Linked DNA regions of Homo sapiens: all the other regions are linked to region 2. The links are contacts of gene promoters, found by promoter capture Hi-C in blood cells and fetal thymus (Javierre and others, 2016). All regions are on one chromosome and are shown on one strand. The core of a region is centred on a gene start or on the middle of the fragment in contact, and the rest is flanking DNA. Distances in the headings are between cores, read along the strand shown. Region 1 has its middle 7.8 kb from the start of DNM1L. Region 2 holds the start of AMN1 (antagonist of mitotic exit network 1 homolog). Region 3 overlaps BICD1 (BICD cargo adaptor 1). Region 4 overlaps BICD1 (BICD cargo adaptor 1).

Region 1 (3,027 bases), core at 410-2,909, 940 kb after region 2:
GGACATGAGGTACAGAGGTGGAGTGTGTGAGACGTGCAGTTTTGGGGGAACATTAGATGGGTGCAGGTAACCAAGGGAACAGATGTGAGTTATTGATTAGAGCTGATATGAAAGGGGTAGGCTGTTTTACAGTAACTAGGGGCAAGGAAGAACAGGAAAGTTGAGTTTGAGAACAAAAGACAAGGAAGTTAGTAGTCTAAATTTTTGAAGAGAAACTCAGAGAAATTCATTGTGTCTTACAGTAGGAACCAATCCTTGGGAACCTTGGTCTTGGACTTCTAGCTTCCAGAACTGTGAGACAATACATATCTGCTGTTCTAAACCAACCAGTCAGTGGTACTTTGTTACAGCAGCCCCAGGAAACAAATATATTCCACCACCAAGTTTATGCAGAAAGAGATTCATTCATTCATTTGACAGTCTTGCTCGGTTGCCCAGGCTGCAGTGCAGTGGTGCAATCTCGGCTCACTACAACCTCTGCCTCCTGGGTTCAAGCAATTGTCCCACCTCAGCCTCTCGAGTAGCTGGAGCTACAGCCGTGCAGCTCCATGCCCAGCTAATTTTTGTATTTTTAGTAGGGATGGGGTTTTGCCATGTTGCCAGGCTAGTCTCGAACTCCTGGCCTCAGTGATCTGCCTGTTTGGCCTCCCAAAGTGCTGGGATTACAGGCGTGAGCCACCACACCCGGCCCGAAAGATATTTAATATGGGAAATTAGATGCTTATAAATCTGTTAGAGTGCCTGGGAAAAACAGGTGTTAGCTAGACATCCAGGAATTACTTCCCGAACAATGTCACAAAATCAGTACACCAGAAGTTACTGTATATTTATCATAAGCGACAGCTGGCTCTCGGGATCTTTTTATCTCGACTGTTATCTGAGAATCAGGAAAATATCATCAGAACCATTAAGTCCAGAACCACGTCATGCTTCCCATGATCTTGCGTCCCAGAGTAGGTGTCCCTTTTGTTTGTCATAGTGTACTAGGGAGCCTTTAGATCTGCAAAGGTAGCAGCTAACCAAGGGCTAAAAGTGAAATTTCTCTTCACCATCAAATATGAGCAAATTGAGTTTGTGTGAGGGAGACAAAAAACAGAAAAACAGAGAAGGGAGATATGAAAAGCTTCTAAGAATGTCAAACAACATTTGAGAACCTGGAGTAGAGTTGTAAAGAGGCTAATGAGAAGGCTTGAGAAATGGGGCAAGTGAAGTAGTTTAAATGCAGGGATGTCTAACATATAATTTTCAGTTGTCACTGCTGTAATTTAAAATCACTATTGCTGGGCGTGGTGGCTCATGCCTGTAATCCCAGCACTTTCAGAGGCCAAGATGGGCGGATCACCTGAGGTCAGGAGTTTGAGGCCAGCCTGGCCAACATGGCAAAACCCTGTCTCTACTGAAAATACAGCCGGGCGCAGTGGCTCACACCTGTAATCCCAGCACTTTGGATGTCTAGCTAACACCTCAGGGCGGATCATCTGAGGTCAGGAGTTCGAGACCAGCCTGACCAACATGGAGAAACCCCGTTTCTACTAAAAAAATACAAAATTAGCCGGGCGTGGTGGTGCATACCTGTAATCCCAACTACTCGGGAGGCTGAGGCAGGAGAATCACTTGAACCCGGGAGGCAGAGGTTGCGGTGAGCTGAGATCATGCCATTGCACTCCAGCCTGGGCAACAAGAGCGAAACTCTGTCTTTCAAAAAAATAAATAAACAAAATACAAAAATTAGCTGGCGAGTGGCCCACGCCTATTGTAATCCCAGCTACTTGGGAGGCTGAGGTGGGAGAATCCCTTGAACCCAGGAGGCAGAGGTTGCAGTGAGCTGAGATTGTGCCACTGCACTCCAGCCTGGGCTACAGAGCGAGACTTGATCTCAAAAATAAATATATAAATATAAATAAAATAACTCTATTATCTCAAATAGTTTCTAAAATATGCCACAAATTTTGATGGTAGGAGGATAAAAAGAAGGGCTACGTTCTATTGGGGTGTGGGTGTGGAGCAAAGGGAAGAAATCAGGACCATATCTTAACTCCCAAGTTATTTTGTCGTTAACTGCTCTTAATTGTGTTGTCACACTGCCCTCTCATGGTCCCGTCAGTATCTCACCAGATTCAATTTCTGGCTTCTGAACCATCTGGCCAATTCCACCATCTGCAAACAATTTCCTGCACCTGCTAACAAAGTATGTGTTAAGCTTGAGGCCTGGGGAGTAGCAAATTGATTAAAGCTGTTTACTTTATCATCTTTGCAAAACACGGGCAGTTTCCAAAATATGACAAAGAGGCTTCCCCAACAGAGCTGTATATTTTATATTAACATTAGATCCCCACTAACCGCTATGATTTGAAGGTGCAGATACCGGCATCTTGGCTGTGATTGATGATCAAAATGTTGGCATAAAATGATATTGGACACATGCGATAAAAACAGTCTGACCTTTTCCAAGATCGATTAATTTCCAGTTATTAATTTAATCCAAAATAAACTTCCTCTAATTCGGGATTTTAAGTTAGAACAAAGCCAGGCTACTCCCTAGCTAAGTAACTTGGCATCTATTCTAATGAGGAGTCCTATGCCAAGCCAGACTCATATGTGTTGGTGAGATTTGATTGCCAGTCCTGGTTGCAATTATATCAATTCAGAGCTGCTTAAATCCTTGTTATTCCAGATTTTCCAAATAAAAAAGAAAAGAAAACCCCATATCCAGTAGACTAATATTATGTAACACGCTTCATACGAGGTAGTGGGGGAACCCAGCTAAATAAGATAATCACTTCTGCCCTTCGTGAGCTCACTATTGGTGAAGGGGGAGGGCATGTTAGTGCCATATCCACGGTTCCTCCCTACTCTCCAGCAAAATATACTGCCTGGCTAAGATCCGTATGCCTAACAAGTACTTCATCAATATGTGTTGAATTAATGAAGAAAGGAATAAATACACGAGGCAGAATGTGTAGCGGTTGAGAGTTTGCTGCCGGGCATGGTGGCTCACACCTGTAATCCCAGCACTTTGGGAGTCCG
Region 2 (2,898 bases), core at 369-2,868:
TGCTCTTACTTCATCCTGGTCCCTAAGATTCTATTCCCAATGACCTGGCTTTATGTCTCACTACTGTGCTATTCATATTGTATCTTCCATTCACATTGGAGCGCTACTTTCTGGTCTTCTCTCATATTTCTACCTTTCCTGCCTGTCAAACCTTTACTCTTTTTATTTCACTCTCTACGATACATTTCCTCCCATTTGCAACCGTCAGATACTACCAATGTTCAAAAATAACCCCCTTGACAAAGCTTTCTCCTATTCTTTTCCTTATTAGAAATTTCAAAAGTTTGTTACTCTCCCGCTTGTGATATTATTCTACATATATTATAGTTATTTATTTTATTTTTTTGAGACAGTCTCGCTCTGTCGCCTAGCAGCCTAGGCGTGCAGTGGCGCGATCTCAGCTCACTGCAACCTCTGCCTCCTGGGTTGAGGCGATTCTCCTGCCTCAGCCTCCAGAGTAGCTGGGACTACCGGCGCCACTACTACTCCTGGCTAATTTTTGTATTTTTAGTACATGCCGCGGTTTTGCCGTGCTGGCTAGGCTGGTCTCCAACTCTCCTGATCTCAAGTGCCTCGGCCTCCCAAAGTGCTGGGATTACAGGCGTGAACCACCGTGCCCAGATAATTTTTGTATCTTTAGTAGAGGCGGGGTTTCGCCACGTTGCCCAGGCTGGTCTCGAACTCCTGAGCTCAAGCAGTTCTCCCACCTCGGCCTCCCAAGTTTAATGTAAAATATCAGATGCCATTGTTTCAGAAAGCCTTCAGTAGATTAAGGAGATTGTTCTCCTTATCCTTAAGATGTCTATTTTTTACATGGCAATATTAACGGACTGAAAGCTCCTGGAGAGACGCAATTGCCCTTGTAACTTCCATTTCCGTACAATTTCTGGTAGGAAATAATAATAACAATAACACTTAGTGGTGTTTATTATTTGCTGGGCATCCTTATAAGGGTTTTACATGTTTTAAATTTATCCCTCAGGACAACTCCATGTGATGGGTGCTATTATCACAAAAATTTTATAGATAAAGAACCTAGGCACAGGGAGAGGTTACGTTACCGGTCCATGGTCACGTGGCTGGTGAATGGCAGAGCCGGGGGCTGAACCCAGCAATCTCAGCCAGGGATCCGTGGTCTTAACCACTTTGTTACCTTTATCCCAGGGTCTGTCAATGTTTATTCCAGTTACAGGGGTGGAATTCTGCTAGAAGCTTTTGAGAACCTCATCTAGCGTTGTGTTTTTTTCTACCAAGGCTTTTAGCTGCTAAGAGAGAGGCCACTGCCAGTAACAGCCGGGGCGCCGAGCTGTCAAGGCTGACGGAGGAATGGACGCTCATCGCGCAGCGGAGTGTTGGAGGGGCAAGCCCGCCAAGAGACCCACTTTGCACAACTGTCCTCAGCCAGGAAACGACAGATCAGGAACCCAGGGACAGAAACACACGCGGGGCCTCTTCAGAGGTCGGCGGGGGGGGTGGGAAAGGGGCGGGGAGGAAGAGCAGCGCAGGGCCTGGCCGTTTGGAGGAGGTGCTGGGGCGGCGCGAAGGGAGGCGGGACAGGGTAGACTCACAGATCCAGGAGCTGACTGACCCGCCGTGGGCGAGGCATCGCTGCAGCGTCTGAAGCCTCTTCCGCGGTCCCAGGGCCTCCAGAACCCAGCCAGGGACCGTCCGCCAACTCCCGCCCACCGCGCGACGCGTAGGTTTTTGTGACGTCACACGGATTTTTCCGGTGACCGGGGCGTGGCCACGCTTCGGACTCCACAAGGAAAGAAGAGAGCCCCCTTTGGGGCGGAGCCACTGAGGGCTGCGCGGAAGAGGCTGGGTGTGATAAACTATAAAGAGGCCCTAAACTCGGATGCAACGTGACGGGAGTTGTAGTTCTTTCACCTGGCGGGCGTCTGCTCCGGTTCAGCTGCAGGAGGTTTCTTGGGAGTTCAGCCCAGCGCGCAGCCCCGCCGCGACGCCGCGAGCCGAGAACTCTCCTGGGGCGAAGGGAGCGCTGAGAAGTCGCTACTCTTACTAAAAGGATGCGTTGGATGCTGGGCCATACCCTTGGCGATGCACACTGGAGACCCGCTCGGATACGGACTCCATTAACATCAAACGGAGCGTGTTAGAGGATCCGAGTTTACTGAGCACTTTCTAGGAAGCGTGCACTGAGCTACGTGCTTTCTAGGCCTTAGTTCAATACTTAACCATATTCATTATAATCCGGTGAAATCGTAATTATTTAGCCTTATTTTACAGATGAGGACACTGCGTACCAACAAGTAACCTCACTAAGAATTTCGTCATGGAGGAGAAGGGAACCTGTATTCAAATTAGGAAGGATCCTGAAGAAAGGGCACCTTTAGGTGGAATTTTATCTTTGGTTCTGCTGCAGAGTACTTGCTGCTTTTTAGTGCTCCCTCCACCCCCCTCATTCTTCCTTGTAGATTAGTCTGTTGTTTGTATGCTGAGTTCCTTTTTTAAGCTCCTTGAAAGTTGGAACCCACTGCTGTTGCCTGTTCAGGATGCTACACATTGAATCAACATGGATTTATTAAGCGCTGAACGAGGGCTAGGGATCGTGCTGGGTGCTGAGGATTGAGTGGCGAACACTTGGGTCAGACAAGTAAAAGGGCAATTAGAATAACTGTTAAATGCTTAGATGGGGTTAGTTCTATGGAAGCACCCATGGGGGTGGGATACAGATCAGAGAGAAAAGGGTGGTCTGCAAATAGTTTGGGATGGCTACACTGGAGAGTGATCAAGAGTGAGTGTAGGGCAGGGGTTGGCCGACTTTTTCCATAAAGTGCTCTGAAAGTTGCAGATTCCAGGAGAAGTAACTATTGTCAGACCCAGACAAATTGGAGCCTAGAGACCAGAAAGGAAGGAAACTCATGCTTGTATGTCTGA
Region 3 (2,787 bases), core at 260-2,759, 520 kb after region 2:
AATCTCGTGATCTGCCTGCCTTGGCCTCCCAAAGTGCTGGGATTACAGGTGTGAGCCACCATGCCCGGCCGACATAGGCTATTTTTTAAAATGCAAGCTCTTCTGAACCATATAATATGATGTTTTAAAATATAGACTCTGAAGACAAAGACCTGGGCTCAGAATCAGGCCCCACCACTTATTTTCAATGGAATCTTGTCTGAATCTTGTAATCTTTCCAAGCCTCAGTTTTTTCATCTGTATAATAGGGATAAAAATAATAGTAAACAAATAAATGTATTTCTTTTGAATATCTAGTAGTATTTTAAAAATCAGATAACTAGAATTATATAACTCTATGTGCTTTATTTTTTACTTGTTTGCTGGGAATCAAAGAGCTTAGTTTTGTTTTTTGTTTTTTTTTTTTTTGAGACGGAGTCTCGCTCTGTCCCCCAGGCTGGAGTGCAGTGGCGCGATCTCAGCTCACTGCAAGCTCCCCCTCCCAGGTTCACGCCATTCTCAAAGAGCTTAGTTTAAGCTCAATTCAAGTGACTATTTGAGGCCTGGTCAGGATATCTGCTGTTATTTGGAACACAAGCTGTTTGCCCAGGACTAAGATCAAGTGATTTTCCTAAAGCAAACAGTGTATTGAATGTAATCCAAATCATCAGCAGGAACAAAGGAGGCCATATAGCTTAGCAATTAAGGCATGGGATCTGAAGTCAGAGAGACTTGGATTTGAATCATGGCCCTGACAAGTTACGTGCCTCTCTCTGCCTGAGTTTCTTCATCTGTTAGATGAGCATAATATTGCAATATAGTGTTACTTTGAGAATTAAATGAGGTAATGCAAAGCTCTTAGAGTAGTTACTAGGATAAGTGTCCAATTAACCATAGTTTAAGAAAAAGGATAAGCTGGGCACGGTGGCTCATGCCTGTAATCCCACACTTTGGGAGGCTGAGGTGGGCGGATTGTCTGAGGTCAGGAGTTCGAGACCAGTCTGGCCAACATAGTGAAACCCCTTCTCTACTAAAAATACAAAAATTAGCCAGGTGTGGTGGCGCACACCTGTAGTCCCAGCTACTTGGGAGGCTGAGATGGGAGAATCGCTTGAACCCAGGAGGCAGAGGTTGCAGTGAGCCGAGATCGTGTCACTGCACTACAGCCTGGGTGATAGAATGATACTCTGTCTCAAAAAAAAAAAAAAAAAAAAAAAAAGGAAAAAGGATGAAATCACAACTTGGAGCAAAAAAACCCAAAGGCATATTTAAAGATTTGCGTATTGGGTTAAAACAAGTTTTAACATCTGGAAAGAAAAAGCATCCATCAACTTTTCTTATCAAGAAATATGAATTATAGCCAGGTCCAGTGGTGTGTGCCTGAAGTCCCAGCTGCTTGGGAGGCTGAGGCGGGAGGATCACTTGTGACTGGGAGTTTGAGAACAGCCTGGGGAACATAGTGAGAACCCATCAGGAAAAAAAAAAAAAAAAAGGTTGATTAAAAAAAGAAAAACAAAAGAGGCCAGGCACGGTGGCTCACACTTGTAATCCCAGCATTTTGGGTGGCCAAGGTGGGAGGATCGCTTGAGGCCAGTGATTAAAGACCAGCCTGGACAACATAGTAGGACTCCATCTCTATAAAAATTTTAAAAATTAGCCAGACATGGTGCCGTGTGCCTATAGTCTCAACTACTTTGGAGGCTAAGGCAGGAGGAATGCTTGAGCCTGGGGGGTTGAGGCTGCAGTGAGCTGTGATGGTGTCAATGAACTCTATCCTGCAGTACAGAGTGAGACCTTGTCTCAAAAAAAATCATCTTTACAGTTATTTGATTATTTGCAGATTTTCAGTGTTTATTGTTTTTACTTTCCTTGCCCCACTATTCTGCATTCATCAAATATTCATTGAACACTGTCTTTTTGCCAGAGACTGCTGTAGGCACAAGAGATACAGCAAAAAACAAGACAAAACCCTTGCTCTCATGAAACTTACAGTCAAGTGTGTGAGATGGACATAAACATAGTACTGTGCTGTCATGTTGTAAAATGGGACCTCTCATTGAGAAGCTGGGTTGGTTTGGGGGTGGGGAGTATGACATCAAGAGTTCTGTTTTGATCATGTTTAGTTCAAGATGCCTGTTATGGTCAGGCACCGTGGCTCACACCTGTAATCTAGAACTTTGGGAGACTGAGGTGGGTGGATCCCTTGAGTTCAGGAGTTTGAGACCAGCCTGGGCAACACAGCAAAACCTTGTTTCTACAAAAAATACAAAAATTAGCCCGGTATGGTGGTGTGTGCCTGTAGTCCCAGCTACTAGGGAGGCTGAGGTGGGAGGATCACTTGAGTCATGGTAACAGACTCGCTCTGGGTTTCGCTCTGGATGACAGAGCGAGACCCTGTATCAAAAAAAAAAAAAAAATGCCTATTAGACCTTCAAGTGGTGAAGACAAGTAGGTAATTGGATACACAAGTCTGGGCTCAGGGTAGAGGCTGGGCTAGAGAAAGAAATTTGGGAGTCATCAGTGAATAGATGACATTTTAAGCCATGGGCTTGGAGGAGATAACCTAAGGAATGACGAGAATACATCTGAAGATCCAGCCTCAGACACTCTGGTGTACAGAAGCAGGTAGAGAAAAGGAGAAACCATTAAAGACCTCTGTTGGGCCGGGCATGGTGGCTCACACCTGTAATCCCAGCACTTTGGGAGGCCGAGGTGGGCAGATCACTCGAGGTCAGGAGTTCAAGACCAGCCTGGACAATATGGAGAAACCCTGTCTCTGCTAAAAATACAAAAATTAGCTGGGTGTGG
Region 4 (2,865 bases), core at 282-2,781, 590 kb after region 2:
TATATATTTACATATGTGTGTAATATATATGTAATTTGGATACAATTTCCTATTCAATTGATTTCAGCAGAAACGTATTAAATATAGAAAGTAGTACTGTATAGCAGCAGTCCCCAACTTTTTTTGGACCAGTGATCTGTTTCATGGAAGACAATTTTTCCACAGATAGGGTGCGGGTGGTCTGGGGCCATTAGATCTCATAAGGAGCTTGCAACCTAGATCCCTCGCATGCGCAGTTCACAATAGGGTTCGCACTCCTATGGCAATCTGATGCTGCCACTCATCTGACAGGAGGCAGAGCTCAGGCGGTAATGTTTGCTCGCCTGCCACTCACCTCCTGCTGTGTGGCCTGGTTCCTAATAGGCCACAAACTGGTACTGGTCAGAGGCCTGGGAGTTGGGGACTCCTGTTGTGTAGGGAGGAAACACACATGCAAGAGACAGTGTTCTATTTGATGTTTTCTGGAGATGCTATCGTGAAGACACTGTAGACTTACCTTTTTAGGCTTAGAAAATGTTTATATTAAATCTCAACTGTCAGAGTCCAGATTGAAGGCTGTTCTAAAGGCATGACCTTATTCATCATAACACTTTTGCTGCTAAAACAAGCTTCAGACACATTCAGTACATTTTGTTTTGATCCAATATTTATTTGATCCAGAGGCCTTTCCTTTTGAAGGGCGTTTTGGAAACAGCCTTATCTGTAATCATGTGTACTAATTGAATAACGTTTACACTTTCCAGTGCAAATTTGCTTAATTTTCAAAGGAAAAAAGGAAAACAAAAACACTTCTGACATAATCAGTTTTCACTGAGATTGTATAGAATAGAGATTTTCCATCTCCTTTATGAAAAATTCAAATGACATGGCTATTCATGAAATACCATATTACATAATTACCAGGTTTTTCACTGAAAACTATTGCCCAAATAGTCTGGGTAAGCAAATTCATCATCACCTCTGGAGATACAGTCTGTTATAACTAATGAAATCCAGCTAAGATTTGTATTCAAATATTTCCTGACTCTAAAATGAAAGAGTTGCTTTTATAAAATTTTCAAAATTGTGAGAACAGATGTGTTTGCCATGTAAAAACATTTTGGTTGTGGGAGGTGGACCACAGCTAACCAATTGTTCACAATAGCTAACATTGTAGAACCTTCAGTATTAAATTCACTAACTCACTTCATCATCAAAATTCCCTATGAGGCGTTACTGTGCTCCTTGCATAGGTTACCAAACTGAAGCTTTCTCAGAGTCACATAGCTAAGTAAATGTTGGTCCCGAGATTTGACTCCAGTGTTCTCTGATGCCACAGGCCCAGTTCTTTACCTGCAGTACTATCATTTGGGAATAATTTGGTTTCTGCAGCCATAATATATAATTTGTGGGTTGCTTTCCTTTCATAGGTATGGACAAACACTATGTCATAAAATCAGAGCTACAACTTAAAAGCCTCTAAATAACACCTTGAGATAACAAAACTGTATCTTAGGTTCTAATATATGTGATCATACTATACAGGCAGTCCTTGGTTTGCATAGTAGTCTGGGACAGTAAAAAATGGTCATGCAAACTGAAACCATGCAAAACAAACTTAATAATTAATGGGGAAATTTACAATTGTTTTGTGATCTTTAAATATTTTTGTGAAACATTAAAAAGTCTCTTACTGTTGGTTATAAATATATATAGAAATGAAAATATAGTAAAACTACTTAGTACTTCATAATTTAAAACATTAGGAATATTGAGAGTTAACCTTTTATTTCTTTGTAAACAGCTTATCAAGAGTATTTTGATCTTGCCTTCCCATAAAGCTTAGGGCCGGGCGCGGTGGCTCACGCCTGTAATCCCAGCACTTTGGGAGGCCGAGGTGGGCAGATCACGAGGTCAGGAGTTCGAGACCAGCCGCCAGGCTGAAACCCCATTTCTACTAAAAACCCCATGGTGAAACCCCATTTCTACTAAAAATACAAAAATTAGCCAGGTGTGGTGGCGTGTGCCTGTAGTCCCAGCTGCTTAGGAGGCTGAGGCAGAAGAATCGCTTGAACCCGGGAGGCGGAGGTTGCAGTGAGCGTAAATCACACCACTGCACTTCAGCCTGGTGACAGAGCTAGACTCCATCTCAAAAAAAAAACAAAAAAAAAAACTTAGGACACTGAGCAAGAATCTTTTCTATGCTTTGGCAAATTGTCATCCTCATTTCTAAGTTTGGATCACCTTCCAACATTTTATCCTCTGCACTTTAAACATCTGGAAATATCTTTGTGAGTACCTTTAATGTGCCAGCATCACTTCCTCTTCGACATTTTCATCCTTTTTGCAACTACTGTACTGTACTTTTCTTTTTCTTTTTCTTTTGAGATGAAGATGGAGTCTCACTCTGTCGCCCAGGCTGGAGTGCAGTGGCACAATCTCGGCTCGTTGCAACCTCCATCCCCCGGGTTCAGGCAATTCTCCTGCCTCAGCCTCCCCAGTAGCTGGGATTACAGGTGCGTGCCACCTTGCCCGGCTAATTTTTTAAAATATTTTTAGTAGAGACGGGGTTTCACCATCTTGGCCAGGCTGGTCTTGAACTCCTGACCTCGTGATCCACCCACCTCGGCCTCCCAAAGTGCTGGGATTACAGGCATGAGCCACCACACCCGGCCATACTGTACTTTTTCATTTAATAGATTGAAAAATTTGCCTCCACTAAATTTCTTTGGGTGAACATCTAAAGTCCCTCAAACAGCATTAGTGTCAACATTTCCATATTCAGTTATTTCTTCTATAACTCCATTTAGGTAGTTTTGGGGATTTTTTTAGAGGCAGGGTTTCACTATGTTGCCTCAGCTCCTGGGCCCAAGCAATGCTTCTGCC

What was found. Contacts are between HindIII fragments. The CHiCAGO score rates a contact against its expected background, and 5 or more counts as called.
Region 1: a fragment that was not itself captured here is called in contact with the fragment with the promoter of AMN1 in region 2 in 2 of 17 cell types (endothelial precursors and fetal thymus); the score reaches 6.1 in endothelial precursors.
Region 3: a fragment that was not itself captured here is called in contact with the fragment with the promoter of AMN1 in region 2 in 2 of 17 cell types (total B cells and fetal thymus); the score reaches 5.4 in total B cells.
Region 4: a contact is called between a fragment that was not itself captured here and the fragment with the promoter of AMN1 in region 2, in 1 of 17 cell types (non-activated CD4 T cells). The highest score is 5.2, in non-activated CD4 T cells.

The regions. Positions count from the first base shown.
Region 1 is chr12:32,670,008-32,673,034 of GRCh38, forward strand. No RefSeq gene overlaps it. Among named protein-coding and RNA genes, the nearest start is that of DNM1L, 7.8 kb to the right of the region's middle. The HindIII fragment of the contact is 1,077 bases long and covers 1,122-2,198 here.
Region 2 is chr12:31,727,403-31,730,300 of GRCh38, forward strand. AMN1 (antagonist of mitotic exit network 1 homolog) reads right to left here and starts at 1,619. Exons shown (of 7, transcript NM_001113402.2): 1 at 1,569-1,619. The coding sequence starts at 1,606. It overlaps AMN1-AS1 (AMN1 antisense RNA 1), which reads left to right and starts at 1,863. Exons shown (of 1, transcript NR_198987.1): 1 at 1,863-2,898. It overlaps LOC105369722 (a long non-coding RNA gene), which reads left to right. Exons shown (of 3, transcript XR_931497.3): 3 at 1,255-1,488. RefSeq lists a silencer at 1,408-1,487 and enhancers at 1,538-1,887, 1,900-2,532, 1,928-2,127. The HindIII fragment of the contact is 3,446 bases long and covers 1,211-2,898 here.
Region 3 is chr12:32,244,857-32,247,643 of GRCh38, forward strand. The region is part of intron 2 of BICD1 (BICD cargo adaptor 1); the gene reads left to right. Among named protein-coding and RNA genes, the nearest start is that of BICD1-AS1, 140 kb to the left of the region's middle. The HindIII fragment of the contact is 7,468 bases long and covers 1-2,787 here.
Region 4 is chr12:32,322,224-32,325,088 of GRCh38, forward strand. All of the region lies in intron 4 of BICD1 (BICD cargo adaptor 1), which reads left to right. Among named protein-coding and RNA genes, the nearest start is that of FGD4, 76 kb to the right of the region's middle. The HindIII fragment of the contact is 573 bases long and covers 1,246-1,818 here.